Linked DNA regions of Homo sapiens: region 2 is linked to region 1. Evidence: promoter capture Hi-C in 16 types of primary human blood cells and fetal thymus (Javierre and others, 2016). All regions are on one chromosome and are shown on one strand. The core of a region is centred on a gene start or on the middle of the fragment in contact, and the rest is flanking DNA. Distances in the headings are between cores, read along the strand shown.

Region 1 (4,600 bases), core at 883-3,382:
ATCAAGGAAAATTCAGGATTCAGGTCAGAGTACATTTTTCACTGAAAAACACAGTGCAAATACAATTAATGACAATGACTTATTTAGCAAGTAAGGTAAAATATAAGTTCCACCTGTATGAAAAGATAATTTTGACTTTGAGAGTACACTTAGATGAATGTCATTTAACAGATCCAGGTTGTCACCTTATATTTTACACAATATTTCGAGAACTAAGAACTTTCTCTTCCATATTCTAAAAGATGAATAACATGAACATATCGGGAAGCACCATCGTTTTGCAGGTCCAATGGGTGTCATTTTAAAACCACCCAAGTACACTGAGACCGCTAACGCTAGTAATGTGGTGTTTGGCAGCTAGTTTTAATGACTGTCATTAGAGCTTTATTTTTTATTTTCTTTTTATAGAGACGAGCCCAGGCTGGTCTTGAACTCCTGGCCTCAAGCGATCAGCCTGCTTTGGCCCCCAAAGTGCTGGGATTACAGGCGTGAGCCACCGTGCCAGCCTCGTTAGTTTGAAAAGCACCAAAAGCTATCCATAGGAATGTGAACTTTAGCATTTCCTATCAAGTATGTATAAATACATAACTGAACCCTCATACAGCATAAAGCTTATAAATCATATACTGAGGCCAGGCGCGGTGGCTCACGTCTGTAATCCCAGCATTCTGGGAGGCCTAGGCGGGCGGATCACTTGAGGTCAGGCGTTGGAGACCAGCCTGGCCAGCACAGCGAAACCCCGTCTCTACTAAAAATGCAAAAATTAGCCGGGCGTGGTGGCGCGGGCCTGTAATCCCAGCTACCCCGAGGCTGAGGCAGGAGAATCGCTAGAACGAACCCAGGGAGGTGGAAGCTGCAGTGAGCCGAGATGGTGCCACTACACTCCCGCCTGGGCGACAGAGCAAGATTCCATCTCAAATAAATAAATAAAATAAAAAATAAATCATATACTGAACCATTTAACAAATACATATATTCCTGAGAAAGAATTTCCTGGGGGCATTATCGCATTTCTAGTTTCCTTATTTTAGACTATTTCAGAGGGAGATAGGGTCTCCCTCTGTTGCCCAGGCTGGGGTGCAGTGGAGCTATCGTAGCTCACTGCAGCCTCGAACTCCTGGGCTCAAGCCATCCTCCAGCCTCGACCTCCCAAAGTGCTAGGACTAAAGGCGTGAGCCACCGCGCCGGGCCGGAGCCTCTGTCTGCAAAGGTGAAGCAGTCAGTACTGTGGGGCGACACAACCACGACGTGCGTAACTATGCGATCTCCACACTGCGGAGCAGTTGAACGGGACAATAAAAGCTCGCGTGGTGAGAGCTTGTGGGCGAGTGACTCCCTTCCAGCTCACGCCAGCCACGCATAATCCAACTCCGGGTGCCACGCCGCTCTCTGCAGCCCTGGCTGGTGACGCCGAGCCCTCAGCCCGGCCTTACGCGGCGGCGGCTCTGCCTCGCTTTCCTGCCCACGTGTCAGCCCCTGCACGCCCGGCCCCGGCCTGAGGCCGCCAGAGGACAGGCCAGGGTGGGCCGCCCGTTCCGAGGGCGCGCGGGCGGAAAGGAGGGGCGCCCGTGACTCACATGACCCGGTCCCCGACCAGACCGCCAAGCCTCACCCACGCGGCGCTCGGGGGGACTCGGCCTCTGAGCGCCCTACAGAGGCCAGCCCCCGACCCCGACCTCCCTGGGCTACCCCCAACCCCCCTGAGGGACCCCCGCGGCGCACATACCTGAGAGCCCCGCCGGAGGCGGGTGCGGCCTCCGGGCAAATCCGGCCGCCCGTGGGCCCGCCCCGACCCGCCCCGACCCGCCCCGACCTTCCCCTCCCTGCCCCTCCCGTCCGTTCCCCTCCACTCTCCTCCCCGCCCTTCCTCTCCCCTCCCCTCCCTTCCCCACTGGCGCGCGAGCGTGCGCGCCGAGCCCGCCCGCGCCTGCGCGCCCCCGACGCCCCGCCGGCGCGCGCTGCCGCCAGCGAGGCCCGGGGAGGCCGCGGCGGAGGCGGAGGCCCGGCGCCCTGGGCGGCGCCCTGTCCCCGAAGTCCGTCCTCCCCGTTAGGTGGCGAGCGCCCGAGGGGAGGGGACAGCCGGGCAAGCAGGAAGCTGCGGCTTAAAAGGGCAACCCGCGCGGGACCCTTCCTCCCTAGTCGCGGGGAGTCTGAGAAAGCGCGCCTGTTTCGCGACCATCACGCACCTCCCCTCCGCTTGTGGCCATGTACCGCTACCTGGGCGAAGCGCTGTTGCTGTCCCGGGCCGGGCCCGCTGCCCTGGGCTCGGCGTCCGCCGACTCGGCCGCGTTGCTGGGCTGGGCCCGGGGACAGCCCGCCGCCGCCCCGCAGCCGGGGCTGGCATTGGCCGCCCGGCGCCACTACAGCGAGGCGGTGGCCGACCGCGAGGACGACCCCAACTTCTTCAAGATGGTGGAGGGCTTCTTCGATCGCGGCGCCAGCATCGTGGAGGACAAGCTGGTGGAGGACCTGAGGACCCGGGAGAGCGAGGAGCAGAAGCGGAACCGGGTGCGCGGCATCCTGCGGATCATCAAGCCCTGCAACCATGTGCTGAGTCTCTCCTTCCCCATCCGGCGCGACGACGGCTCCTGGGAGGTCATCGAAGGCTACCGGGCCCAGCACAGCCAGCACCGCACGCCCTGCAAGGGAGGTGAGCGTCGGCCGGGCCCCGTCCCGCCCTCCCTGCCTCCCCTGCGGCCCTCCCCTCCGGCCTCCTGCCGGTGCGGGGCCGCTGCTCAGCCCAGCCCAGCCCAGCTGGAGCGGGCCGGGTCCCCGCCCGGGTCACCCCGCCTCGGATGTGGCCGGCTCTGTGGATGGTGATTTTTCCGCCTTAAAATCATCATGCGATTGGCCTGCCCCCTCCCCCGCGCCGTCACCCCGGGCCTCTGTATATGCTGATCTTGCATGCAGAGTAGACGCTGCACCGGTCTCCTTTTGGTCCCGGTGTCTGTGTCACACACGGCGGGTCCTGCCGAAATGCACTTCTAGGAAAGGGAATGACCTGCCCGTGTGATAATGCCTCGTCAGTGTTCTTGGGCTTTTGTGAGTCTCCCCTAAATGCAAGCTGTCAAATTATTTTCTGGTATTTGTTCACTCCTGTTCCAATAGTGACAGATGATATCCGAACATAGAAAATGACTTGGCTTCTAAGTTTGAAATCTAGACAGTTTTATTAACCAAAGGAATTTACTAATCACGCGTTAATCGTTTCAATTAAGTAATTTTCCCATTCTGACAAGTTCTGTTTTATACCAAAAAAAAGGAAAAACACAAAAAAATCACAAGCAATGTAATATCTCTGACAAATAAACACCTGGCGTCCTGACAGTAAATTTACAGGTTGTAGGCTGCGGATGGCCAGCCAGCCAATGGAATGAAATAGCTCTGGGGGTGTGTACTGGTCCTGGCTAGCCCTGAATTTGAGCTTCAGGAAAAATATAGTACGTGAAGAAAGGGGTCAGATAATGTTTGGTAGTCACTGGGTTATCCTGTGGTTTAAATCATTTAATGTCTGTAGATTTGGCCTCTGTAGTCAGATTGCTTTCTTCGAGCAAATAAGAGCTTTTTTCCCCCCAATACATTGCATCATACCTCTTTAGTAACATAAAATGGAAAGGACAAACCACTTTTGTCTACTGTAAAAAAGAAAAATTATATGGAATAAAGAGCCCAGGGAGGCGAGGAGTCTTGTTGGAGGTGGATTGGCTGAGAAGCACAGAGGATGTTGGGCTAGACCCATGTCTCAGTAAACCTGGTTCTGTGGTCTTTCAGTTATGCCCGCTGACTTATGAGGATTTTTAGAAATCCTCTCTGTACCGGAAAAAACTTGAGCGGTGCTGGTGTTCCCAGCAGGGGGGACAAAGGTTGTTTTTAAAGATTTACTAAATTTGCATTGACCCCGCCCACTTCTAGGACTTAACTTTGGAGCTTAATTATCCCCTAGCTCTGGTTGCCTCAGCCAAAACCAATGTTTGAACCACTTTGACCTCTGATTTCCTTTCTAGCTTCAAAATTGTATAAAATGTACACACCGTCAGTCTCCTACATTTGCCTGCCTTCTTCCTACCACTCCCTTATTATCCAAACCAGGAAAACAAGTTCAGACTCCAAAGAAAGGCAAATAAGGATGTTGGAGGAAGTTCAGGCAATGTTTAGCAAATATTGAGTTGCATCGTTTTCTTAAAACGGACATCAAGTTTATTTTTTACTATCTTGCTGGCAGCATTTGCCAGTCCTTTAAAAGGTGTACAGATAAATCAGTGTATGTGGTTTTCTGCAGGATGATTTGGTCTCTGAAATCCTTTTTCTTCGATTCTTCAGATGCCCAGCTCTCTCCTGTTTTTATAAGTCGCAGCTCCGCAAACTCACTGAAGCAACTCGTTTACCATAGTTTGTGAGTCCTCTTTCTCTTGTTGCCACAGCAGTTTTAATGCCAAAATATTGAACCTAGCAACAAATTGGGTCAGCCATACCAAAGCACTGTTACTGTAGCACTTGCTTGTACTAGAGTGTAAGATACAATTTTCTGTTCCGTTTATCCCATTTACAAAAAAACATGCTATTAACCCCCAGCATATAAACAGGGAGAAACTGAATTGTT
Region 2 (4,600 bases), core at 932-3,431, about 23 Mb before region 1:
GCCTCCACTCACGATCTCAGCACACACACCTCCCCACGCACGCGCGCCCCTCCCCGCACCCGCCCCTCCCACACGCGCACGCCCCTCCCACACGCGCACGCCCTTCCCGCACACGCCCCTCCCCCCCGCGCACCATCCCTCCCACGCGCGCACCCCTCACACACGCGCGACCCTCCCCGCACACGCGCGACCCTCCCCACACACGCGCGTGCCCCTCTCCTCACACGCCCCTCCCCTAACGTGCGCACCCCTGCCCTCACACACACGCATGGCCCTCCCCTCACACGCCCCTCCCCACACGCGTACGCCCCTCCCCTCACATGCTCGCACCCCTCCCCTCACATGCGCTCACCCCTCCCCTCACACACACGCGCGCGCCCCTCCCCTCACACCCGCGCGCCCCTCCCCTCACGCGCGCGCTCCCCTCCCCTCACACGCCCCTCCCCTCACACGCGCGCACCCCTCCCTCACACGCGCGCACCCCTCCCTCACAGGCGAGCTCCCCTCCCCTCACATGCTCCCCTCCCCTCACACACTCCTCCCCTCACATGTGCACGCCCCTCCCCTCACGCGCGCTCCCCTTCCCTCATACGCCCCTCCCCTCACGCGTGCGCCCCTCCCACACGCGCGCTCCCTTCCCCACATGCCCCTCCCATCACAAGCGCGCTCCCCTCCTTCACTCGCCCCTCCCCTCACGCGCGCGCTCCTCACACGCCCCCCTTACACGCCTGCTCCCCTACCCACACGCCCCTCCTCACACGCGCGTCCCCTCCCTCACACGCCCCTCCCCTCACACGCGCGCACCCCTCCCTCACACGCCCCTCCCCTCACACGCGCGCTCCCCTCACGCGTGCGCACCCCTCCCTCACACGCCCCTCCCCTCACGCGCGCTCCCCTCCCCACACGCCCCTCCCCACACACGCGCGCTCCTCTACCCTCACGCGCGCACACCCCTCCCCTCACATGCGCGCACACCTCACCTCATGCGCGCACCTCACACGCGTGCCCTCCCTTACCGGCCGCACCGCACTGCCGAAAAAGATTAGTAGCGCTCGGGCTCACGCAGCGGCGCCCAGCCATTACCTCGCTCCCGGCGCTCCAAAAACTCGGCAGCCTCCAGCAGACGCTGCACGTTGATCATCTTCACCCGCTCCATGGGCACCGCGGGTGGCGACCGGCGCCTCTCCGCACTCCCTTCTCGGGCCGACAGGAGGCGCCGCAGGCGGCTACGGCCGGGCGCCGTTCCGGAACATGTGCGACGGGCGGGCGGGCCAGCTCGGCCGCGGCTCGGCGCGCTCTCCGCCGCCCCTGCCGCCCCAGCCGCGCCAGCCGCGCCCGCCGTGCCGCGGGCAGCCCGCGCGTGGTTTGTTTACCTCTCCCCGCGAGCACGGGGGAGGGGCGGGAGCAGCGCCGGGGCCCGCCCCCTCCCGCCCCTGCCTCTGCCCCCTGGGAAATGTAGTCCCGCACCCGCCCGCGGCTGCCGGGAATCGTAGTGCACACGCCGTTTCAGGGCGCCTGCGTTCCGCAAGATTCGCAAAGGTCGTCGGAAGGTGTAGTCCCGCTGGGTTTCCTTTCCTGTCTCTAGGGAAGACTAAGAAGTTGCGGGACTTTGCTTCTGGGAGGGAAGAATTTTTTTTTCCTCCCTCCAGACACGATGTGGAATGGGAAGGATTTGAGCGAGCTGGGAGTCTACTCCCGGGGAAACTTGTTTCTCAGCGACTCCCTGCGGTTGCCCAGGGGCTGAGACATTCTTTATTCGAAGTATCATGTTCCAGTCCTCTATCTCCTACTTTCTCATGTAACTTATGTGCCTCAGTTTGCTCATCTGCAAAATAAGAAGAGTAACACACCTGCACCAACAGCGCACACAGAAACTGGAAAAGCCAAAATTGCTGTTCAAAAACGAGGGATGATTTCATCAGAGAGGGTTTCCATGAAGCCCTTCTTCCACCTCAGCTTCCACACAGACAAGTAGTTACTTTTTTCTTTAATCTTACTTTTTAAAACTTTCTCCTCTCCTCACTAGTGCTTTTAGACGCCAGAAAATTCTCCCTGGTGCGGAACAGTTTGGTTCAAATCCTGACTCTGCTACTTACACTGAGACCTGTGTGAACTCTTCCAGCCTCATTTTCCTTATGTATAAAATGGATATGATCATATCCACGGCGTTGAGGGCGTGCCATGTGCCAGGCACTGTACTAGACTTAGTTTGCATAGTAAGAGAGAAACGGACGCAGACCTGCTCTCGAGGTTTGTGTATTCAGTAGTGCTTTTTGCAAAGATTAAATATAATAATTCCAGCACTTAGTATATACTAGGCACTCAGTAAATAGAAGCGATGATGATGTTTTCTCTTATGCTCTCCTCTGTAGCTAAAAAGGAAGTTAGAGAGCGGAGACCACATTAAAAGACTACCACTGGCCGGGCACAGTGGCTCACGCCTGTAATCCCAGCACTTTGGGAGGCTGAGGTGGGCGGATCACCTGAGGTCAGGAGTTCGAGACCAGCTTTGCCAACATGGTGAAACCCTGTCTCTACTAAAAATACAAAAATTAGCCGGGCATGGTGGCGGGTGCCTGTAATCCAAGCTACTCGGGAGGCTGAGGCACGAGAATCGCTTGAACCCGGGAGGCGGAGGTTGCAGTGAGCCGAGATCACGCCACTGCACTCCGGCCTCCAGCCTGGGCAACAGAGCAAGACTCAGTCTCAAAGAAAAAAAAAAAAAAAAAAAGCCACTGACTGCTCATTCATGGCCACTCTCTTTCTAAGTCCTCCACCTAAAAAATCCTCAAAGTCTAGACCAGGGTTTCTCAACTTTAGCATCATTGACATTTTGATCTGGGTAATTCCTCCTTGGAGCAGGAGCTCTGTTCCGTGCTTTGCAGGATGTTTAGGAGCATCCCTGGCCTCTACCCACTAGATGCCAGTAGCACACCACCACCCCTCAGGTGTGACAACCAAAAATGCCTCTAGACATTGCCAAATATCTCCTGGGGCACAAAATCCCTCCCCTGTCCCCCAGTTGGGAACAAGGGATCTAGGGAGAGGAAGAACAAGAGAATCGTACTTGAATGCTCTAGGAACAAGCTGGGAACCGTGCAAACATACCCATAACTTTTTTCCACCCCAATTATATTAACCTGCTGCTTGACATCACATCCAAAATAACAGGAAGCTCCTGGTGAGGGGGGAGTTTCCCCCTCCCGTGGTCATTCCATTGGCTCCTGCAGAAAATACCATCTTGAGATGGAAATCTTACCCTCTTAAAAATGTTATCGGCTTCATGCTGCATTTTAATATACCTTTCCCTCATACCTTTTGTTTTCTTACCTTTCCCTCATACCTTTTGTTTTCTTTTTTCTTTTCTTTTTTTTTGGTAAAGTGAACAAAATCTCCAGTGAGGTCACAAGCTGCAAAATTCTGCCAGTCCTTTTAAATATTACACTTGGCACCACATTTAAGACCAAATAGACGTTCCATCAAATGCAAGCAGACCCAAAATGAGAGGTGTTCGCAAGCCACAGAAGAACTTTTTTTTTTTTTTGTAAAGGCTTTCAAAAAGGGACTGTTCTTTTAGCTCTTGACTAGGTCGTTTTGGATCTGGACTTTCCCAGGTCATTTTGGATCTGGACTTTCCCACTGGGTGTTGGTAACAACCTCCCTTCACCCTCAACAAGGGCCATGTTGGGTAGGGGTGGGACTGGATTATTTTAAAGAAAATACCATTCATTTAGAACATCTGTTAGTTGAGGGTAGAATTTATTTATTTTTTATTTATTTATTTATTTATTTTTTGAGACGGAGTCTTACTCTGTCACCCCAGCTGGAGTGCAGTGGCGCGATCTCGGCTCATTGCAACCTCCACCTCCCGGGTTCTCCTGACACAGCCTCCCAAGTAGCTGGGGTTACAGGCGCCTGCCACCACGCCCAGCTAATTTTTTGATTTTCGTAGAGACAGGGTTTCACCATGTTGGCCACACTGGTCTCAAACTCCTGACCTCGTGACTCGCCCACCTCAGCCTCCCAAAGTGTCCCTGGCCAGGACAAATACAACTCTACTTTTCTCAATAGGAGGTAAACTTGTGTGACAAGCAATCAAGAAAAGTAGTACAAACTGAAAATATACATGAATTCAAGATGGCTTTAATTCCAGAGGTCACAGAACCATAGCTGGTTAGGAAGAGATGGCTACATGCAAGAGGCCTGGGGCCTATGCATGGCCTTTCACAGTTGACCTCCAGGTGAACTAACCTAGAGCCCTTCTTCTAGAGCCATGGCCAAGAGGGAGATGAGGACATGGAAAGTAGAGCGAGACTCACCAAAAGGCCACCTGCATTGAAGAAGGGGAGAGATGATGATCATGGTGGGCAGTATTAAGGGCTGGTTCATGTACAGAAATCTCCAGCCTTTTCTAAAAGCAATTGAAGTGCCACTTCCTTCTCCCTGCGCTGGCTGCCTCCTGGAGTCCTTCCTTGGACATCAGCTATAAGGGCCTCTCCAGCACAAAGCTTAGGGCTCTATCCACAGGAAAGTAATGCTACCCACAAACCATCCCTCAGCAACAGTCTCAGCCCGGAGGAACCCAGAGGCAGCCATAGCC

Evidence for each region. Contacts are between HindIII fragments. The CHiCAGO score rates a contact against its expected background, and 5 or more counts as called.
Region 2: a contact is called between a fragment that was not itself captured here and the fragment with the promoter of GLUD1 in region 1, in 1 of 17 cell types (activated CD4 T cells). The highest score is 5.7, in activated CD4 T cells.

What each region holds. Positions count from the first base shown.
Region 1 is chr10:87,092,375-87,096,974 of GRCh38, reverse strand. GLUD1 (glutamate dehydrogenase 1) reads left to right here and starts at 2,132. Exons shown (of 13, transcript NM_005271.5): 1 at 2,132-2,650. The coding sequence starts at 2,206. It overlaps SHLD2 (shieldin complex subunit 2), which reads right to left and starts at 1,769. Exons shown (of 10, transcript NM_001330112.2): 1 at 1,727-1,769; 2 at 1-41. RefSeq lists enhancers at 1,119-1,178, 3,583-4,120 and silencers at 1,221-1,478, 1,399-2,098, 2,219-2,358, 2,559-2,898. The HindIII fragment of the contact is 4,292 bases long and covers 614-4,600 here.
Region 2 is chr10:110,222,767-110,227,366 of GRCh38, reverse strand. The region is part of intron 1 of MXI1 (MAX interactor 1, dimerization protein); the gene reads right to left. Among named protein-coding and RNA genes, the nearest start is that of MXI1, 17 kb to the right of the region's middle. RefSeq lists enhancers at 893-962, 1,563-1,622 and a silencer at 1,293-1,452. The HindIII fragment of the contact is 4,658 bases long and covers 1-4,510 here.